4 separate regions of the Homo sapiens genome follow, and all the other regions are linked to region 3. Evidence: promoter capture Hi-C in 16 types of primary human blood cells and fetal thymus (Javierre and others, 2016). All regions are on one chromosome and are shown on one strand. Each heading gives the region's core, a stretch centred on a gene start or on the middle of the fragment in contact. The rest is flanking DNA. Distances are from core to core; before and after follow the strand shown. Region 1 overlaps ERICH6B (glutamate rich 6B). Region 2 overlaps LCP1 (lymphocyte cytosolic protein 1). Region 3 holds the start of SIAH3 (siah E3 ubiquitin protein ligase family member 3). Region 4 has its middle 16 kb from the start of CPB2.

Evidence for each region. Contacts are between HindIII fragments. The CHiCAGO score rates a contact against its expected background, and 5 or more counts as called.
Region 1: a contact is called between a fragment that was not itself captured here and the fragment with the promoter of SIAH3 in region 3, in 1 of 17 cell types (M1 macrophages). The highest score is 5.0, in M1 macrophages.
Region 2: a contact is called between a fragment that was not itself captured here and the fragment with the promoter of SIAH3 in region 3, in 1 of 17 cell types (endothelial precursors). The highest score is 5.4, in endothelial precursors.
Region 4: a contact is called between a fragment that was not itself captured here and the fragment with the promoter of SIAH3 in region 3, in 1 of 17 cell types (endothelial precursors). The highest score is 5.2, in endothelial precursors.

Annotation. Positions count from the first base shown.
Region 1 is chr13:45,591,164-45,595,044 of GRCh38, reverse strand. All of the region lies in intron 3 of ERICH6B (glutamate rich 6B), which reads left to right. Among named protein-coding and RNA genes, the nearest start is that of ERICH6B, 23 kb to the left of the region's middle. RefSeq lists a silencer at 2,048-2,107. The HindIII fragment of the contact is 5,237 bases long and covers 1-3,881 here.
Region 2 is chr13:46,138,392-46,141,970 of GRCh38, reverse strand. The region is part of intron 13 of LCP1 (lymphocyte cytosolic protein 1); the gene reads left to right. Among named protein-coding and RNA genes, the nearest start is that of CPB2, 35 kb to the right of the region's middle. The HindIII fragment of the contact is 504 bases long and covers 1,762-2,265 here.
Region 3 is chr13:45,850,346-45,853,898 of GRCh38, reverse strand. It overlaps SIAH3 (siah E3 ubiquitin protein ligase family member 3), which reads left to right and starts at 2,146. Exons shown (of 2, transcript NM_198849.3): 1 at 2,146-2,404. The coding sequence starts at 2,270. RefSeq lists an enhancer at 3,037-3,553. The HindIII fragment of the contact is 4,746 bases long and covers 435-3,553 here.
Region 4 is chr13:46,119,705-46,123,359 of GRCh38, reverse strand. No RefSeq gene overlaps it. Among named protein-coding and RNA genes, the nearest start is that of CPB2, 16 kb to the right of the region's middle. The HindIII fragment of the contact is 474 bases long and covers 1,802-2,275 here.

The DNA.
Region 1 (3,881 bases), core at 1,065-3,564, 260 kb after region 3:
TTTTTCCAACACTGTTTCAGCAACTGGCAGTACTTCCTCATGTTGGGTTTTATTATTTGGCAGCAGCCTCCTTGTGCTGTTTGCTAGCAGTGACTAATGTGCTTTTGCTCATATGCCCCTGCAGTGTCTTCTCTTGATGTCGTGACTGCATGGCCATATTCAACTAGGTACAGAAATGTAAAGGTTCAGGTCACCTACATCATCTTCATGCTGGCCTATAAGTAGAACTAAACTATTTTTCTGGATCCGGTTCTGCTACCAACTACAAGCATCCTAGGCAGCCTGAATTTTTGCATTCCTAAAAATCTGATTACACACAACCTACATCCTAAAAGCTGGGCATTCTCAGCAGCCACACAGACATTTTACCTTTATGTCCCTCTCCATCAAATCAGATGTACCATCCTTGATTCCTACTCCCTTCCTGGAAATTTAGTTGTTGCATTGGAGAGGTAATTCCACTACTGCTGGGAAACTCTCTTTTCTGTATGCCTACCATTAAGCTCTCTCTTGGAATCCTAATATCCCTGCTGTTCAAGTATCAAATGTAATTCTAATACTGAAAAATAGCATTCAGGGCTTTTTCTCTTGCACGGTATGAATCAAGCATTCTTAACATGTCCCCTCTATGTGCTGGATCTTTGAAAATATATTACCCACTAGAGTAGGACAAATACAATGCTGTCAAGCGAATGGAACTGTGTATAAAGCAAACACTTTGAAAATAAATGTCCTGCTAACAAAAATTGGAGAGGCACTGAAAAAACACTAGGGAGATGCTGAAATGCCTTTCAAGGCTCATGAAAGAATGTCTTGGTCTATGAAATTCTAGGGTTTCAAGATAGATTGTACAAAACAGGTTAAGAAAAAATGTATAAGAAATTTCTTAACTTTTCAAAAAAATATATCAATGTTTTTATGTAGAATAGTCTCCTAATACCCTTAAGATATAACTTTGTTTACCCTCGTGTTGAACCTCAGTGACTAACAAGAGTGCCTTCCTCACCTATAGCAGATGCTCAGTACATGTAAATTGAATCAAGTGATCATATTCACTAACTAGAGCCAGTCACACTCACATATACATGGGTGCACACAAATTTTTTTAACCTTATCCATTAATTGGCATCTATAAAATGAGCCCTAGATATGACAAATGGGCTTATCTCTCATGCTGATGCATTAACTACTTGAGGTTAGTAGTGGAAAACTATGTTGAGAAGAATTTTGAGGGATTGTCTGGGCTCAGCAGCAAAGAGTGCTGTGAGCAACTAGTGATGTCTGCCACAGGAGCAGAGAGTGAAGGGGGTGCCTGAGTGTCATTTATTTATCTACTTAATAGCAGGTAGGAGTCTGTCATGAAGAGCACATTTTCCTTTCTCTCAGGAGCTTGACTGCCTAGGTTTGAATGCCAGCTCTCTCCCTTTCACTAGTTGCATGAGCTTGGGCAAGTGACTTAACCTCTCCATGTCTTGGTTGTCTTCATTGTAAATAGGAACAGCATTAGACCTACCTCATAGGATGTGTGGGAGGATTAAAGGGATTTAATTGGGTAAATCATTAAGAAATATGCCAGACACATAGCATTTTAGGCCTAAGCAAGTGTTAGCCATTATAAGTATTATTATATTACATGATGTATTATTATTCCCTTGCCATTGACTTGTGCCTGGCCACACACCCCTAGCCACATTACCTGCTTTGTGAAATGGACATAACCAAAAGATGAGACACAATGAAACAGGCTGTGGGAGGGATCTGCACCCTCCACTCATCTACCCTATAGCGGTCAACTTCAGAGATTCCCATAGCCCTGGACAAATCAGGTTACATCAGACTAACAACCCCCACCCACCTCTCTTCCTTAAAGGGTTGATTCCCCCCAAAGTTTATGGGGAAATCCAGTAAAATTGGGTGAGCAACTTGAATATAAATGCAGCATCAATTGCCAGTGAATAATTGGTTGGTCGCATCTGACTGGCCTGCTGGGGGAGTTCAGATTTTGGATGCACAACATGGGTGTGAGTGCTGTGGTGTCCAAGTCAGAAAACCCAGCACACGGTGGAGTCTAGACCTTGGGCATGTCACTTACCATCTCTAGGTTTCAGTTTCCCCATGTGCAAAAACACCTTTCTCACAGTGGGTTGTAATAAGTAAATGAAGTAACATACCTGAAACTGCTTTGAAACTCCCCTGTACCACACAATTGTAAGGTATAAAATACTCTTCTAATCTTACAAGAAGAAAGGCAGTAGAGGAGCCTCCAGGCTACATTGCTCTCCTGCTGCCACAGAACATGCTGTAGAGTGAAACCACCCCATAATGAGACCCCCTTTTAGTTTTTTTAGTACCCAAGACATTCCTAATGATAAATTCTGCCCTGTGGCAAATAATGCTATAGAGATGTCACAATACATTGATTTTGATTCATCATGTTTTTGCCTAATCTTTTGATATACATAGTGCATCGAATTTTATTTTCTTTACCCTGCTAGATCCTCCTCGGCAGCTCCAAATGCCGTCTGGCCTAAATGCTGTAATTCAGTTGCCATTTCCAGTTGAGAGTTGGTGTCCCAACTACCATTTCCAACAGGGAACCTAGCAATTCTGGAAATTTCAGAAGAAAGGTGCAAGAGATACTAACAAGGCAGAGATGAGAAAGCCAGCCAACTTTTCATGAAAGGAAGTTCACCTCTGTGACCTTGAGTCAGCCACTGGTGGGTGGGGGAACGCTGAGCCCCAGAGCTGGTTTCTTCTGCCTCCAATGTGCTCCCAAAAGAACAGAATCATTTTCTGCACGTGTCTTGTCCCAGCGAAAGTTAGGGAACATAGTCTGATGGCATAGGGTACATATTGTCTATTTCACAATCTGTATCTCCTTTAATTGTCCCAACCATTATCTCTTCCTGCCCATTTCACAGATGAGCAACTTGGAGCTAGAAAGAGGGCATGTGACTACTCCAAAGTCACAGAAAATCATTAGAAGGGCCAGGACAGGCTCCCAAACTTTCTCTCCTCTTCTAGTCGCTTCTCCTCCTTTCCTCCCTTCCTTCCTCCTTTCATGCTTTGTTTCTGCTTTTTAATAAGTTGTGCACCTATTTTAATTTTAGAAAAGTGACATCAAAAAACGAATATCTTCTTGTTCCTTTTTTTAAAAAATGAAAAATTTGAACAGTAAAAAGTAGAAAGACATCCCCCAACCCACGAACATTCAAATATAAATAAAGCTAATTCACACATAAGTGATTTGTATTCTGTCTCTCTGCCGCCATTGTTTGCATTTTTGGTAGTGATGGTCCTTGTTGTGTGGTTTGGTTTTTACTGTTTTAAACATGCTGTCTATACAAGTTAGTACTTTACTTTTGTAACTTAGTATTATAACTTCACCATTTGCCCATGTTGCTTAATTTTTAGAGACATCATTTTATTTTTATTTATTTTATGTTTTTGAGATGGAGTCTTGCTCTGTCGCCCAGGCTGGAGTGCAGTGGTGCCATCTTGGCTCAGTGCAAGCTCCGCCTCCTGGGTTCACGCCATTCTCCTGACTCAGCCTCCCGAGTAGCTGGGACTACAGGCGCCTGCCACTACATCCAGCTAATTTTTTGTATTTTTAGTAGAGACAGCGTTTCACCACATTAGCCAGGATGGTCTCGATCTCCTGACCTTGTGATCCGCCCGCCTCAGCCTCCCACAGTGCTGGGATTACAGGCATGAGCCACCTCACCCAGCCGAGACATCATTTTAATAGCCAAGGGATGTTCCTCAATAATATTTTCTTGCATGGGTAAGCTACGGATAAGTGGAAGTGTTCACATTTCCCTTTCCAATTCAAATGTTCTGGTTCTCGTTTCTCTACTGCTTCCCCTGTTGCCATTTTGTAT
Region 2 (3,579 bases), core at 764-3,263, 290 kb before region 3:
ATTAATAGATAATAGCTACTATTGCTTCTATAGGCTTCCTATTGATTAGTGGTTAGCATGGCCTATCTTTTTACCATCCTTTTACTTCAATTGATCTGTGTAAATAACAATTACTTTTAAAGGGACTTTTTAAATAAAGGGGAAATTATGCTATATTTATCTACACATTTACTATTTCTAGTGCTCTTCCTACTATTTTATAGATCAAGATTTCCATTTGGTATCATTTTCTGTCTACCTAAAATATTTCTAATAGCACAAGTTTGCTGGTGATGAGTGATTTCAGCTTCTATATGTCTGAAAATGTCTATTTCATTTTCAAAATATTTTTTTCTCTGAGTGCAGAATTCTAAGTTGATAGTTTTTTCTTTCCGTACTTTAAAGATAGTTTCACTGTCTTCTGGCCCACATTGTTTCCAAGGGGAAATCTATTGTCATTCTTATTGTTGTTCCCTCATATGTAGTATTTCTTTTCTGGCTTATTTTAAGATTTCTCTTTATTACAGGTTTTAGGTAATTTTATTATGATGTACATTGTTGTTTCTTTTTTTTTTTTTTTTTTTTTGAGACAGAGTCTTGCTCTGTCGCCCAGACTGGAGTGCAGTAGTGTGATCTTGGCTCACTGCAATCTCCACCTCCTGGGTCCAAGTGATTCTCCTGCCTCAGCCTCCTGAGTAGCTGGGACTACAGGTCCACGCCACCATGCCCAGCTAATTTTTGTATTTTTAGTAGAGACGGGGTTTCACCGTGTTGGACAGGCTGGTCTCAAACTCCTGACCTAATGATCCGAGTGCCTCAGCCTCCCAAACTGCTGGGATTACAGGCATGAGCCACCATGCCCAGCTCCATTGTTGTTTCTTATGCTTGAGGTTTGTTGAACTTATAGAATCTATGGGTTTATACTTTCCATCAAATTTGGAAAACTTAACTTTCATCTCTTCAAACATATCTTCCATACCCACCAGCCCTGGTTCTGGGGGATTCCAAGTCCATGTATATTTGATCGTTCAAAGTTGTCCCTAAGCTCACCGATGCTTTAGTGATTTATTTTCTCTATGTTTCATTTTGTATAACTTGTATTGCTGTGTTTTCAAGTTCACTAATCTCTTTTATTTTGCATGTCTAATATTCCATTAACTCCATCCAGTGTACATGTTTTTTAACCTGGACATTATAGTTTCCATGTATAGAAATTTTGAGTCATTTTTATATTTCCCATAGCTGTCCTTTCCTTTACCTTCTTGAACATACAGAAAATAATTACAGTAACTTATTTTGGGATCTGTTTCTACTAATTTATTTTTATCTTCATTATGAGTCATATTTTTTGGCTTCTTTGCATGCTGCTAATTTTTTAATTATATGTCAAATATCATGAATTTGACCTTGCTGTGTACTGGATATTTCTGTATTCCTTTAAATATTCTTAAATTTAATCCTGGGATAGACTTAAGTAACTTAAATACAGTTTGATCCATTTGAGGCTTACTTTTAAGCTTAATTAATCTAGAGCTCATTTTGCTTGTTAGTAATGAGAAAATGGTCTTCTGAGTACTTTGCTTGATGCTCATGTATTATGAAATTTTTCCACTCCAGCTGGTGGGAACAAATTTTTCCAGCCTTGTGTGAGCCCCAAGGATTGCTCTCGTGGCTCATTTCTGGTGGGTTTTTCCCCACAGCCTCTAGTAGTTTCCTCACACATGTGCACTGAGTGGTCCTCAGCTGAAGACTGAGGGAAACCCTCTGAAGGCCGCTGAAGCTTTCTTTCTGAATGACTCTCTTCTCTCTATACAGTTCTCACCACTCTGATAGTCTTTCCCCTAAATTCTAGGCACCTGGGCTTCCTTCATTTCTCATCCCTGTTTCCTCCACTCAAGAGGATGGCCAGCTGTTTGGGTTTTCTCCTCCTATGCTGCAGCTTGGAAACTTTTTCCATGCTGGAAAAATCTTAAGGCTAACTTTGTTTTCTTCTTTTCAGGGGCCACTGTCCTGTGCTTCCTATTGTCTGATGTCTGAACAACATTGTTTCATATGTTTTTCACTGTATTATAAGTGTTTAAATGTGGGCCCTGTTATTCCATCATGGCCAGAAACAGAAGTTCCTTTCATACAAAACTTTAGATATGTTTTGGAACTGAATATAAACTTGACTAATGTGAGAAGTATAGGGTGATATTAGTTAAACAAAAATAGGTTATAAAAAGATACACAAATAGAAAATAAATTATAAGAAAAAGAAACAATTTTGGTACAAAATCATAAGCTTGGGAAGACTTTTAGATAGGAATTCTGTAAGTAATAAAATAATTTACTTGTAAATGCTTCAGTCTTTCCCCCTATACTAATAGCTCTGACAAGGCAAGAATCTTACATCCCCTCATTAGATCCTATGTTAGTGTGACTCAATTCATTTTCCTACCTGGAAGGAAGCCCCAGAAACTGCATGTCACATTACATTCTGTCTGGAAAGATAATGGCAAAGACAAGGTTCGTGGTGTGCCTAGGCACTGCAGCTTTAGTTCCAAGCCACTGTCTGCAGATCCTAATAATGGCCGGCTCTGGATGTAATCGTGTCAGTATTTCCAGATAAGGTAGGATAATCAGAAGTGATCATAAAAGATTTCACTCCCTGATTCACATTTGCTTTACTAAGTATAGAGCTCCATTACCCATTTCCACACTGGGGTCTCTTTAATGATGGGGGCAGATGTCATAAGGCTCCCCTGGTGCAGAAAACTCCAGAACTAAAGAAACTCCAACTCTGTCTTTTAGTTTACTGCATGTATCCAGAACATCATTGAAAACTCCTCAGGGCTGTTCTCACCAGTGTATTTCCAGATGATATTTCCAAGCTATCTTTATTATCTTCCACAAGTTTTAAATTTTTAACAGATTAGCAATTCATACTGATTGCTTTAAAAACCAAAGCAAAAGTCCTTTTAGTTGCAACAGTTAAACTGACTCATGGGTTTCAATATTAAATAATCTTTAATATATGCTATTTTAATGATTAAAAAGCTCAAGCCAGCGGGTGCGGTGGCTCATACTGTAATCCCAGTACTTTGGGAGGCCGAGGCGGGTGGATCACCTGAGGTCGGGAGTTTGAGACCAGCCTGGCCAGCATGGTGAAACCCCATCTCTACTAAAAATACAAAAATTAGCCAGGTATGCTGGTGCGTGCCTGTAGTCCCAGGTACTCAGGAGGCTGAGGCAGAAGAATCTCTTGAACCTGGGAGGCAGAGGTTGCAGTGAGCCAAGATCATGCCACTGCACTCCAGCCTGGGTGACGGAGCGAGACTCTGTCTCAGAAAAAAACAAACAAACAAACTCAGGTCAACCCCATTCTATGTTAAATTTCATAATATCTGAAAAACGTCTTGCAATATGATCTTTGGATGTTTTATAAAAATGTGGCTCAAAGCCCTATTTAATGGCTGGCACATACACAACAAGGTCCACTCTGCTGTTGCTGTCTCCACCTGGTTAAAAAGTCATATTTCTCATGAGTGTTTACTACATAAGAATCGTGCATTTAAGAAAGTAGACAGAAAAATATATTACTGTAGAAGGAGAAGTAAT
Region 3 (3,553 bases), core at 897-3,396:
CTTAAAAATCAAGATAAAATTAAAGGAGCATTGATTTTTATATCTTAAGCACAAGCATGAGATTATCAACACAAAGTTATAGATCTTTGACCTATTTGCTGGCATCCTTATTTTGTGTACAATCATTTTATTTTAAAAATACCTTTCCAAAAAAAAAAAAAAAACAGCAGAAATCCCCATTCTCATGGAACTTACTTCTAGCAGGATGACGGAAACAATACATCTTTAAAAAGTAAAGAAAAATGAAACAAAACAGAACAAAAAATCAACACAATCGTTCCACTAGAGCCAAAGATGTAAAAATAATTTGAACCTTTCTAAATTATGAATATATCTTTAAGGAATCTATGAGAGTATCTGCACACTTTTAGTTTTTAAAACAAGTAAGCCAATGAAAGGACATTAAATGTTTTCCCAATGAACTGCTGAAAGCTTATTTTCTGGACAATTCAAACTTTAGAAAGCAGATTCTGGTTTTGTGGGCCAGCAACCTTTATTATATGCCATGTAACAAGTGGCTCCAGGGACTCAGGTCCTATAAAAATATCACATTGATGAGGTTCTAATCAGTTCAAATGTTGTCATCTTCTAGTTTGGTGCCAGTGTCGTTATTTTAAAAGTGCAAAGTTTCCATGTTTAATTGGTGTTCAGCTTGTCTCTTAAAACATTGGTTTGGTTTTAAATGCAAGTTAAAATGAACAGCCTGGGCTCTGTCCTGGCATCAATAAACTTGTGCATTATTTTTATCCCGTATGTTATTCTGTTGTTAGTTTAACTGCCTGACCAGGTCACAGACCTAGGTGTTCCACGTGTGCATATGTTTTGCATACATTACAACCCAAGCATTGTAGCCAGAGCAGAACAAGAGCCATGAGGGAGGGGGCTCACACTCACAGGGTACAATTCACAGTGGGGGCTGATCCTGCTCCAGGCAGCACTGGATCTGGCCTGACTTCTCAAGAGAGAAACAACCAGGGAAGAGGGAAAACACAATACACTGAACTCCCCTGCTTTAGCTGCAAAGACTAAACCATCAGAGCTAGTCCCGAAAAACCCAAAACCCTTCAAGTACTGCTTAGGAATCTTTCTTCAAGAACCAGCGGCCTCCCGCCCACCCACCAGCCCTGTTCTGGGGAGCAAGGACAGGTTTGCAGTCTGAGGACTGGAATGCCCTCTGCCTGTGCCAGCACAGAAATGTGCTGCTAGCATTTGCAGAAACAAGTAAATGATGTGGTATGTGCATCCTTAATCTCTATTTTAATGTCTCCAGCAATCTAGTGGTTAATTAGCAATTTGCTGCCCACCAATATGCAAATGAATGACAAGCAAAGGTTCTCTGCATCTGTAATTATTTTGCTGATTTACAAGCCTCTTTCCTCTCAGTGTAGGTTTTTCTGTGTGTGTGCATTCATGCATCAGGGATTTCATTATTTTTTGAAGCATACTCTGTGCATTTTTATCCTTTAATACTTTCAGACTTCAGTAATCACAGTATTTTGAAAAAAAGAAAATATATATATATGTATAGTAATATATATGTATGTGCTTCCCTCCACCCCTCAACTCCAAATGAATTTGTCAGGGATTCTTTTCTTTGATAAAGAGTGGAGAGTAAGATTTATCAAGGGGCTGTAATCCAAATTGCAGAAAGTCAGAACGCAAGATTGAAAGATACACATTTTTGCTGCTGCCAAGTCCTTATCTGGATTCAGAGTCTAGTAATATTTTATTTTCTCCCAAGCAGCTCTGGTGAGTCGAGCCATGATCTGCGTTATCCATCTGCCTACTTTGGAGCGGGGTGTTGTACTATTTGGCGGCTTAAACGCTTTACGTTCTTGCCAGGGCATTAAGAAAGGCTCTCATGTTAAATTAAGTCAATTAATAAATGGAGACACATTAAGCAATCAATTTTGTCAGCCTATCTCCCCAGCATTAGGTATGGTTGGCTGTAATCACAAGATAAATGCAATGTGCTGATCTATGGTAATGTTCAATAATACATTCTCCGCCAGGCTCAATTCATCAGGGAGTTTCGGTAGGGAAGGCATTTGTTATTGGCTGTCTCTGCACCTCAAGGATAACATTTCTGTCCTTTTGATTGGCCGCCTCACTGCTGCAAGATTCTAACCGTCTTATTTTGATGATGAATATGAAGGCGCGCTAAGCCGGGCTGGAGCGGAGTGTCTCAGAGGCTGCGCTCCTTCCAGGGCCCAAGGACTCACAGCTTCCTCCGCTGCCTTCCCGGACCAACAACCCCCCAAAAGTTGTGATGCTTTTCTTTACCCAGTGCTTTGGGGCTGTATTAGATCTCATTCATCTCCGGTTTCAGCACTACAAGGCTAAACGGGTTTTCTCCGCTGCCGGGCAACTTGTCTGTGTCGTCAACCCCACACACAACCTAAAGGTGAGTCTCTGTGTCATTTTACCTTCACCGGGCTCAGGTTCAAGTCCTTTCTCGGAGGCGGCAGCGACCCTCCGGCGAACGTGTGCAGCCCTTTGCAAACCCGGGTCTCGGGGGCTGGGACGGTGTCTGGAACCCGGCGTGTTTGCCTCGGCTCACTCTCGCTCTCTAGGTGATTGGGTGCTGTTAGTGACCGAGTGTTGTTTCCCCAGCTGGCAGGAAAAGCTGGATTGATGGTCTGATGTCTTTCCCCGACGCTGTCAACCTGAGAGTGGCGTGGGGGGCAGAAGTGAGGGTGGTGGAGGGAACAGGGGGGCGTCCCCATCACTCCCCCTACTATTTGTGGGCAAGTGCTCAGGAGACAGGATTTGAAGTTAGCCAAATTCTCTCTGTCCCATGTGTTGGGAGAGGTGGTCAAACACGAGGATTTTAGAAGCTACTGGGGGGTGAGGAATCCTGAAACAGGGACTTGGACGTCGGTGGGGTGGGGGGAGGGTTCTTTCTGCAAAGTGTTTGTCCTTGTCCTCAGACTCGTGTGTGTGTGTGTGTGTGTGTGTGTGTGTGTGTGTGTGTGTGTGGTGTCGGGAGGATTTTGGCTTATTTCCTTCCTGCTGGTTAGATGCGCTCTGTGTACTGGAGCAGGATTTGCCTGGCTTGTGTAATAATGACACCAGCTTCTAGCTGCTGCCGCCGCTGCCTGGAGCACCCTAGGCAGCTGGGTGCTGGGTTGCTCGCGGCTGCCTAGCTGCCCCGGGGCCTCTGCATTTGTACCCTCAGGTCAGTGCCCTTTTAGAGACCAGACAAAATATGGGGTCCGGCAGAGCCGCTTAACATCACAGCCAAGACTGACTGGGAAAGGAATGATGGGCCACTGGTTAGGGGTAGTAGGGAGGAGGGGAAGTCAGGGAGGTGGGGGCTGGGGAGAGGGTGCAGCTGAACTCCCCGGATGGGAAACTCAGCACCTTGCCTCTCTCCTAACATAAAAGATGGACTCATTGGAAGTTCCTTTCCTGTACTCCTGTGTAAGGCAGGCAGGACTGAGTGCCGGGGGAGGGGCCGTGTCTGTAGCGACAGTGCCTGACAGTCTCTGTGAGGATAGATCTGTCCCTCTGACCACTGCTGTTGGGCAGGAAGAGCATTGCCTGTTGTCCA
Region 4 (3,655 bases), core at 789-3,288, 270 kb before region 3:
ACACACACACACACACACACACACACACACAGCCCTAGTCTGTCCCTGGGAGCACAGTTGTGATCTCCATTGTAAAGACCGGGTAAACTCTTAGCCTGCCTTAGATCAGCCTATTTCAGACTGAGGCTTAAGGCACGGGACATTTCCATGTGCTCTCAGTCCTTGGGATGAGCCCTGGGCCCACCTTCCTTACATTTACTATGCCTGTCGTCACTGACCTCTGTTCTTTGTTCCACCCAGTGTGCAGATGGGCTTGCAGTAAACGCCAGCAGTGCTATCTTCGTGAACTTGGCATTGTTTTGCCCAGTACGTTCCTGCCAATTTCATGATCCAGAAAGCAGAGCTGATGCTCAGAACAAGTTAGAGGCATTGACCGATCCTCTTATGCAATCTAGTCACTTTGACAGTTTCCTAATAAAATTCCTGTAATTAAATTTTAAGCTGTCAAAGAGGGCTCTTACTCAGTATGCTTTCTCCCTATTTCTGAAAGACAGTTTACCAACTGAGCCTGTGAATGAGTGACAAAAAGAAAACTGCGTAAATGTTTTCTCATGCCTAACATCTACATATATTTAATAACCCACATCAGGCCAGGGACAAAAACAGGTAACCTAGTCATTGCCCAGCATGTCACCATTAACAACTCAGAGACAGGTCAGTAAAATGACAGGAATTTTTTATTTTATTTGGCAAGTTGGAATTGGAGAGTTCCACTTAAACATATATTTTCGTTAATGGAAATCTAATATACATCATTTAGAGAATTAGAATGCACACAAACACTGAATTCTGAAGGTATACGGAAGCTAACATAAAAACTGTTGATTCAGCAGTCATTTCTGGACTTGTCTACACCATGGGTCCACTGTTATAAGTCGCAATGTTCAAACCTGCTTGCTCTAAGTGTAGTGCTCAGACCGGGGGCATCTAGGAGCCGGTTAGAAGTGCTGAATCTCAGCCCTTACCCCAGACGTACTGAATCAGAATCTGCATTTTAATAAGATTCCTACGCACATTAAAGTTTGAGAAATGCTGTCCTAGAAGAATAAAGGTCTCGTTAAAAGATCTACAGTTGATGGAAGGCTAAATTAGGCTCTTTTAAATTAAATTACACTTTCTCACTTACACTGGACTCGAGAGAGTGAAATAACTTCCCATGAATGTTTCCCGATCATCAGTATTCACTTGATGTGGCCAGAGTGGCTCTTCCCTCTGTTTGGGTACTTCCTCCACCACCCAGCTTTGCCCTTTGCTGTGCCCCTTCCCTTGGTTTCCCCCTTCCAGGTGGCACTCGCTCTAAGAAGCTGATCTTCTGGTCCTGCTGGCACCTGCATTGTGTCTCTTGACATGATCTCTTGCCAGCTGCCCAGGGCTGCCTCTTTAATAGATCTGACCCAGTTTGTGCCACGTCACTCAAGTCTTCCCTCTTATCCCTCCACCGCCTGTCAAACTGGCTTTTCTCCCACCATGCCTGGAGCAATCTCTCTATGACTTCCAGTGACAGGGAACTCATTAAATAGTAAACCATTACTATTCCAAGGCCCTGCAGTGTCTACTCTTAACCCCCTAAGCAGGCACTTTGCAATGACTTTCTGGGGTTACAATAGCCTCATTGTTAAGTCTGCCAAATGCCTAATAACAAGGAGAAAGAGGAAAATGTCTTCCAAGTAGAGCGACTATCATATGCAGTGGTCCTGAGGATGAATGAAACTTGATATCTTTGAGGAACTGAAAGACAAGGATAACTGATGGGAAGCAAGAACGGCCATATCATAAGAAGCAGCGGTACTTGCAAAAAGCTTAGGAATCACCTGGGGAGCTTATTAAAACACATTTTCCAGATCTCACCTTGAGACTCAGTGCCTATAGGGCTGGTGAACCTAGCAATCTGCATTTCCCACAAACATCCAAGGAGATTCTGCAGCCTGTGACTTACAGACCATACTTCAAGAGGAACTGGTGTAGACCAGCTGTTCTCAATCCTGACTGCACATTGGAATTATCTCAGGAGTTTTAATCAATGCTGATGTCTATACTCCTCCCTACAAGAGTCTGACGTAATGATCAGATGTGCAGCCAAGGCAGCTGGGTTTTTAAAAGATCCCCAGATGACTCTAATGTGCAGCCAGGTTTGAGAAATGTTGATCTATAGCCTGGAGTACTGCGCCAAAGAGCAGGCACAGGTGGAACATCTTAACAGTTGGGCAGAACAATAACAGGCACTGTTGATTCAGAAAGTAGGAATGAAGGCATGGACACATTGCACAGGTAAGCTTTGCTTTCTTCACAATTTAGCCATCCAATCAACAGGCATTTGCCTGTCTGGGTACCCAGTAACCCTCTTAAGTGCCACAGGCCTCAGGCTTAGTCTTGCAAGCCAAAGCAAGGTCATTAGTACCTGGGATTGAGTTCTCTGCGTTCAGGCCTCAAATCCCCTTTTTAAATGGCTTCTGGGCTAGCCTCATCTTTCCTCCCCCTTAGAAATACAGGAGGCCAGATACCCCAAGACACTGTTTAAATTATAAGACTGGTTCACTTTTCATGAATAAACATGAGAGATAATGTGTGAAGGGGAAAAACATTTACCAATCATGCGTCTTCAAAACCTTCCAAGATTATGCAGCTTTAATGGCTGAATGATTTTGAAAGAAAAACTTGTAAATGGAGCTGCACCTGAACTCATAATAAAAAGGCATCAGATTAATTGAGTCTCAGAGCTTCCCTAACAATAAGCCTGACCTGCATATCCAAGTTGTGGCCGGCCAAGGCCAAGAGGGCATTTGCCCTTAGTCTCAGGCTGCTCCAGTTTGACAGAAAGTCAAGGCAGGCCACTCCTGACAGGGTACACTAATAAGGACAGAGGGTTAGGGCACTTCAAGAAATACTTGCCATATTATTTTTGCTACTCATTCTTCTAAATTGGCTGGAGAACAAGTTAGCTGGGTCCTAGGGTCCACGATCCAGTCAGATAGATCGGCCAGAACTAGATGGCCTCTTGAGGTGGTGACTCATCACCTAACTCTCAGAATGCAGCAGAGGAAGACTAGCTGTTCCCAAGATCCTGATGAACTAGATAAGCCTCCTGCAGAGAACACAGGAGGCTTCCTGGCTTCCTGCCAACTCCCTTCCTGGTTTATCTTTTTCATGTGAATTTTAATATATTGAGAACCTGCTTTTGCCAGTTAGTTTAAATGTTACCCCATTCAATCCTCACAACAGCCCTCTGAGGTAGGTTACAGAAGAAGCTGCATTTCCAGAGGCTGAGATTTGCCTAATTACCCAGCTAGGCATGGGATCCGTCGGCTCCAACTTCTGTGTTCTTTTTGCTCCCCAGTAGAGGTGACAGGATCCACAGAGAGGCATCTCAAAGAGGGATAAAGAATGAGAAGAAATTTGTCTTTCCCTCCCTTCCGTTCTTCCTCCCTCCCACCCTTTCTTCCTTCCTTTCTTGCTTCCTTTCCTCATTCTTTTGTTCTTCCATTCTCTATTTGTACATACAATAAAATTCAACTTTTAAGTGTTAAATCTGAGGAATTTTAGCAGGATACAGTTGTGTACCTACCACCACAATCAAAATATAGAATACTTCCACCACTCCAAAACAATTCTGCTGTACCTTTTCAAAGGTTAATCCTCTTTCACCAGCTCTACCCTC